2 separate regions of the Homo sapiens genome follow, and region 2 is linked to region 1. The links are contacts of gene promoters, found by promoter capture Hi-C in human tissues and cell types (Jung and others, 2019). All regions are on one chromosome and are shown on one strand. The core of a region is centred on a gene start or on the middle of the fragment in contact, and the rest is flanking DNA. Distances in the headings are between cores, read along the strand shown.

Region 1 (2,899 bases), core at 390-2,889:
AGTTCTCCATCTGACTGCCTCAGTTTCCCTGAATCTCCAGCCAACCCTTTGGTTCTTTCCAAGCGTTTCCCTCGTATCCTCCTGACCACAGCAGCTGGTGGCATAGTGTGCGTATCTGTGGGCAGGAGTTAGTGAAGGCCTCCTTCCCTCCCTCCAAAGCCCCAGGCCCCACGGTCTGCCACCCGCAAAATTCCAACCACGAGGGGGCGCCTTCCTGCCCGCCGCCCCGTAGGGAGACCCGGCCTAGGCCGCTGGAGTTCCGAGTTCCAGGGTCCTTGTGATGGAAGGGCGGGCGCGGCCCCCACACCTGGTCTTCCAGCCCTATCCAAGGAGGACTGCCAGACAGTCCCGCTCTGAGGTGCAGGAGGCCGGGCCGCCTCGGCTACCCTGAATCCACCCGAAGCTAGAGGGCCCGAGCCCGGGGGGCGGTCGGGTGCTCACCTCCAGAGCTTGCCCAGCGTCTTGCTGAGCTCAGCGTTGTGCAGGTGCGGGTACTGGTCCGCGAGCTTCCTGCGCGCTGCCTGAGCCCACACCATGAAGGCGTTCATGGGCCGCTTGACGTGCGGCTTGCTTTTGCTGGCGCCGTTGACGCGCACGGGCATGGGCACCAGCGTCCAGTCGTAGCCGCTGAGCACCTGGCTGACGGCCTCGCGGATGCACACGGGGAACTTGTCATCGTCCGCCTCGCCGTCCTGCTGCTCCTTCTTGACCTTGCCCAGCTCGCCTGGCCCCGGGCTGGCTCGCAGGCCCGATCCGCCGCCGCCGCCGTCGGGCCCTAGCGAGGGCGCGCTCCCCGGGGACAGGCAGCGGGGCTCCTCCGAGCCCACGGGGCTCAGCTCCACCTCCGATAGGTCCTGCTCCTCCGCCATGTCGCCCCCGGCCGCCGCCGCCGCCGCCTCGGCCGCCTCCCCCGGGCCAGCCGCCGGGGTCCTCGCAAAGAGTCCAACGCCCACCTGGATGGAAGGAGGGCGCGATGGAGCGGCCGCGCGCGCAGCCCCGAGGGCGGCCCGAGACAGGACGTGGGCACAGCCCCGAGGTGGCGGCCCTTCCTGCTCCAGCTAAACCCATCTGGCCCCTGGGGCCCACGCACATGCCAGACTCTAGGTGGGTGCGTCCCGCCTCTGTGTCTTCCCACCACCTGGTCCCAACCGTCTCTTGGTGTGGGTGGCTTTTTTTTTAGCCTCCTTTTTTGGGTGGAGGTTTGTTGATGATAAGGAAGAAAAAAACGGAGCCTTTATTTTGCTCTAATCCCGGCCCCTGGAATTTCCCACCTTTTCTCTCACCTTTCCTTCTTCCCTCAGCCTGCCCCAACGGGGTTTAGAGGAGAGCCAGGTGGGGGGCAAGGGCGGGGTGTCGCCTCTCTCCACCTCACAGCAGGGTCCCAGGCCTGGGCGGGCCAGGGAGGAGCAGGCTGCGCACTCACCTCCTCGGACCTCTCCTCCAGTCTGGGGCTCGTCCTTAGGAAGTGGAAAACCGTGTCCCAAGGTGTGCGGTCCAGCTCGGGGCTGGGAGGTGACGCTGGTGGGCTGGGAGGGAGGGGCGGGGGGCCCTGAGCCTCAGGCCACGGCCTCGTTAGGACGGAGCCTGAATCCTTACCACCAACCACCCTGGCCGGACAGCCCGAGACTGACTGAGCGACTGAGCCTGAGCCGCTGCGGAGGGCTGGGGAAGGAAGGAGGGGGAGAGGGGGGAGGGGAGAGGAGGGAGGGAAGGGCAGAAGGTGGAGCCTCCAGGCTTTCCTTCATCCCCAACACTCAGGGCTCCTCCACCCGGAGCCCAGGCCCCCCCACCCAGCTCCCTGCCCTACTGCCCAGGCCCATCTTGCTGAGGCTTATCTTGGGCTTAGTCTGGGAGGTGGAGGGGAGGTTAGGCCGAGGAAGGAAGAGATGTAGGCTGGAGGGTCAGAACCTGTTGGATGGAAGAAAATTGGGCCCAACCAGGACTCCTAACGTCTGCCTCAGGTGGCAGGATGGGCACTTGGCAGGGGACTAGGGAGAGACGTGAAGGCGGTGAGGGTCCTGGGGGCCCGTGAGGGTGGCTGGCCCTAGCTGCTTCGTCTGCGAAATCCTGTTGAGTGCCTAGTGTGTGCCAGGCACTGATGCCCAGCTCCTCACCCTGCCTCCTACCTTTTCCCAGGCAGCCCTTTCTGCCCCATCCTGCACAGTAAGAGAGACTTCTCAGGGATCCCTCTGAGAAGTGCAGAGCCCCAGCTTGACCCCTGGTCCCTTCTCTGCAGACACCCAGCACACGCGCGTTCTGGTCTGGTTCAAGGTGGAAACACAAGACTAAAGCTGCCAGGAGGCCAAGGTGGGACAGGTTGGGGGCCCTCTCTCAGTAGGTCTTAGAGGCATTTTGGGTTGCTACCTACTGGGACCCAGCTCCTTCCACACTGGGCTCACCCTGTCTTGGGAGAGGGTAGGGGAGTCCTAGTCCTGATTGTCACGAAGTCCTCTACTCCCCCACCCCAACAAGGGGTGGGGACTTGCCCTGCCTCTTCCCTCCTCTGCCCACCTCTCCCTCCCTCCCCTTTTCTTTCCTGCCCATCCTCCGTTGACACCTTTTTCTCTCTCTTTCCTTGGCCTCTCCTCCAAAGGTCGCAGTGCTGTTCTCTTAACTGAGGGCAGCCCCGCCGGGGTGTTGAGGCCGAGGTGGGGTGTATGTGGGTTATGTAATGGAGCTGGGGTCGCATTGGCAACCATGTGACGTTCTGAGCTCCTCAACAGCAGGGCAAAGCCCCAAGACCACCCCAAGGGGTCCTGTCTGGAGTGGGCTGCAAAGGGTCTGGGGAGGCAAGGCCTCATGCTTGGGAAAGTCCAAAGGGGTGTAGGGGGTGGGAAATGGGACACAATGAGGTAGTCACACGAGGCAGAGGCATGTTGGGGGTGGGGGGAGCAGACAC
Region 2 (3,275 bases), core at 662-3,161, 190 kb after region 1:
GATCACTTGAGGTCAGGAATTTGAGACCAGCCTGACCAACATGGTGAAACTCCGTCTCTACTAAAAATATAAAAAAATTAGCTGGGCATGGTGGTGGGCACCTATAATCCCAGCTACTTGGGAGACTGAGGCAGGAGAATCACTTGAGCCCGGGAGGTGGAGGTTGCAGTGAGCCAAGATAGCACCACCGCACTCCAGCCTAGGTGACAGAGTGAAGACTCCGTCTCAGAAAAAAAAAAAAAAAAATTATAAAGACAGGGTCTTACCACGTTGCTCAGGCTGGTCTCGAACGCCCGGGTTCAAGCGATCTGCCTGCCTCAGCCTCTCAAAGTGCTGGGATTACAGGTGTGAGTCACCGTGTCTGGCCTAAAATGTTCTTGATACACCATCACCAGATGCCAGGTTCTCTCTCCTTGCTCTGGGCTCTCCCTCACTTTAAACACATCTGTACTATCACAGCCCAGCATGTTACAACTGCCCCTCCTGCCAGACGGTAAGCTTCGTCATCCTCCTACCAAACACTCCTGTGCATCTTGCTGGCACCATCCTGAAAGCTTTACGTACATTAATCATTCTGTCTGACAACCACTCTATGAACTGGTTACTATTATTATCCTCATTTTACATATGAGAACACCAAAGAACAGAGGGGTAAAGTCACGGGCCCAGGGTCACCCAGCTAGTGGGTGGAGCAGTGAAAGCTGGCACCCAGATGGGCTGGCCCAGAGTCTGAGTTTCTCAAAGGCAGCTGCTCGTCTTTTCATCTCCGTCCACAAGCTTGGCTCACAGAAAGTTTGTCAAAACAAAAATTTAACTGAGTAAATATTATGCATAGAAAAAACAAAGCCTGATAGAAAACAAACCAAGATAGACTGACAGAAAACATGCCATTGAGTAGATGAGGGTGCTGGGTTTATGGGCTTTTGTTTTTTCCTTTTCCCTATTTTCCAGATGCTATGTAAAGCGATTATAGTTTTCAAAGGAAGTAGCAGTATAGGCTGAGCCTCTGGGGGCTGCAGCCGGGAAGATGGGGACCTGTGGGACTCAGGCCTGGCCTGGAAGAGCGCAGAGAGGCTACCCCGAGGACGGGCCCACAGGGACGCGGAGGGGTGCGCCCAGGAAGGGCAGAGAGTCAAGAGCATCCAGCACCCATGAGCCTCAGATTGAGGGAGAAAGTCACCAGGGGTGCAGTGAAATCAAAGAAAGATTCCACACACCCCTTCGTCAATGGCCCAGCCTGTGTACCCCCCACCAGAGCCTGGGGCTAGGGGATGCCCCCCACACACCCACGACAGCATGGCCACAGAAACGACAGGCTTGGCTGGCATCCAGCCTTCAGGGTAGGCAGGAGGACGAGATGACGCAATGGAGGGAAGGTGTCTGGGACACAGGCCGACTGTGGGCACACAAACAGTGGCCATTGTTATCACTAGGTGGAAGAAAGGAAATGACAGCCACGGGGCCACATCCTGGAACACTCACGGCATTGCCAACCAGGAAGGCGGGCCAGCAGGGAGAAAGTGCTCACACGTGCTTCCTTCTGTCCCTGCCACCTTGGACCCTGGAGCCTAGGCTCTTCCCAGCACAGCTGCAAGAGGGGGATGGTGGATGAGGGCCCCCCGCATCATGCCTCACTTCATCTCTCCCCCTGGCTTCTCACAGCGTCCTACCCTTGACCTTCCCGTGGGGTAGACAATCACTTTTCCCCACTGATGACCGGCCCCTCCTCCTCCTTACCTGGGCTTCTCCCTGCACCCCCAGGATGCCCAGGTCACCTGACACAGACCGCACCTCGGCTGTGTCAAGCAGCTCTCTCAAACACCACAAGCAGAAAGACAAAGACCCAAGACCTTTGGTGGTGGGGGTTGACAGTGACAATTCTGCCTGTCCAAGCCAGGCAATTTCCAGGTACCAATTTTGGTGCCCCTGCTGAGGGAAGCCAGATATTTCTGGCCGTTTTCCTTATCTCTGCTCACCCATCCTCTGTCAAAACCAAGCTTGCCTGCTGGGTTCATTGAGGGAAGACTGACAGAGAGTGTGCTGGTGTGAGGGTCCCCTGGAGGAGCTGAAGGACGGGAGGAACAAGTATTATTATCCCATCTTCCCATCTCAGAGATCAAGAAACTGAGGCCCAGAGAGGCCCTGAATTGTACATGTTCAAAGGGCAAATTAAGGCCGGGCACAGTGGCTCGTGCCTGTAATTCCAGCATTTTGGGAGGCTGAGGCAGACGGATTGCTTGAGCCCAGGAATTTGAGACCAGCCTGGGGAACATGGCAAAACCCTGTCTCTACAAAATATAAAATAAAATTAGCTGGGCATGGTGGTGTGCGCCTGTGGTCCCAGCTACTCGGGAGGCTAAGGCAAGAGGATTGCTTGATCCTCTTGAGGTCGAGACTGCAGTGAGCCAAGATTGCACTACTGCACTCCAGCCTGGGAGACAGAGCAAGACCCTGCCTCAAAAACAAAACAAAACAAAGGGCAAATTAAAGTTGATGTCCACCAAAAAACAAAAACAAACGGGCTGGGCGCAGTGGCTCACGCCTGTAATCCCAGCACTTTGGGAGGTTAAGGCGGGCGGATCACGAAATCAGGAGATTGAGACCATCCTGGCTAACATGGTGAAACCCCGTCTCTACTAAAAATACAAAAAAAATTAGCTGGGCGTGGTGGCGGGTGCCTGTAGTCCCAGCTATTCGGGAGGCTGAGGCAGGAGAATGGCGTGAACCCGGGAGGCGGAGCTTGCAGTGAGCCGAGATCATGTCACTGCACTCCAGCCTGGGCGAGAGCGAGACTCTGTCTCAAAAAAAAAGAAAGAAAGAAAAACAAACGAAGAAACAAAAAACCTCGAGTGGGAACAGAGGGAGATTGGAGCCAATGGTAGCATCTCTGATGAGTTCCCTGGAAGTGACTACCTGGGTTCATAAAACAGTCAACAGAGAGACCCAAGACCAGTCCCTGTCTCGCCAAGTGCACGGTCCCCTGAGGGAAGGACCCCTAAAGGGGATGACTTTTTAGCTGAACTTTCCAGGAAGAACAGGAGTTTGCCAGCGGGGGAAATGGCGAGAGGCCTTCACAGCAGATGAAGCAGATCAGAACACGGAGGAAGGCAGAGATCAGGGGCTTGCTCAGCCCACCCATGAACGGTGAGCATTTTCACTGGGACTGGACGGCTCGAGAGGGGAAGGTGCTGAGAGGAGGGGCCGTGGTTAGTGCTGTGATCAACGTGAACACAGGTCACCTGGAGCCACTTGTCCAGGGCTGCTATGTCAGTCAC

What was found. Contacts are between HindIII fragments. The study calls those that stand out against the background at their distance.
Region 2: a contact is called between a fragment that was not itself captured here and the fragment with the promoter of SOX10 in region 1, in 4 of the 25 tissues and cell types used here (dorsolateral prefrontal cortex, hippocampus, lymphoblastoid cells and 1 more).

Annotation. Positions count from the first base shown.
Region 1 is chr22:37,982,916-37,985,814 of GRCh38, forward strand. It overlaps SOX10 (SRY-box transcription factor 10), which reads right to left and starts at 1,640. Exons shown (of 4, transcript NM_006941.4): 1 at 1,424-1,640; 2 at 442-953. The coding sequence starts at 869. It also overlaps a transcript of POLR2F not described here. RefSeq lists enhancers at 1-746, 2,701-2,899. The HindIII fragment of the contact is 28,697 bases long and covers 1-2,899 here.
Region 2 is chr22:38,171,595-38,174,869 of GRCh38, forward strand. The region is part of intron 1 of PLA2G6 (phospholipase A2 group VI); the gene reads right to left. Among named protein-coding and RNA genes, the nearest start is that of PLA2G6, 8.6 kb to the right of the region's middle. RefSeq lists an enhancer at 2,516-2,660 and a cis regulatory region at 2,588. The HindIII fragment of the contact is 3,596 bases long and covers 114-3,275 here.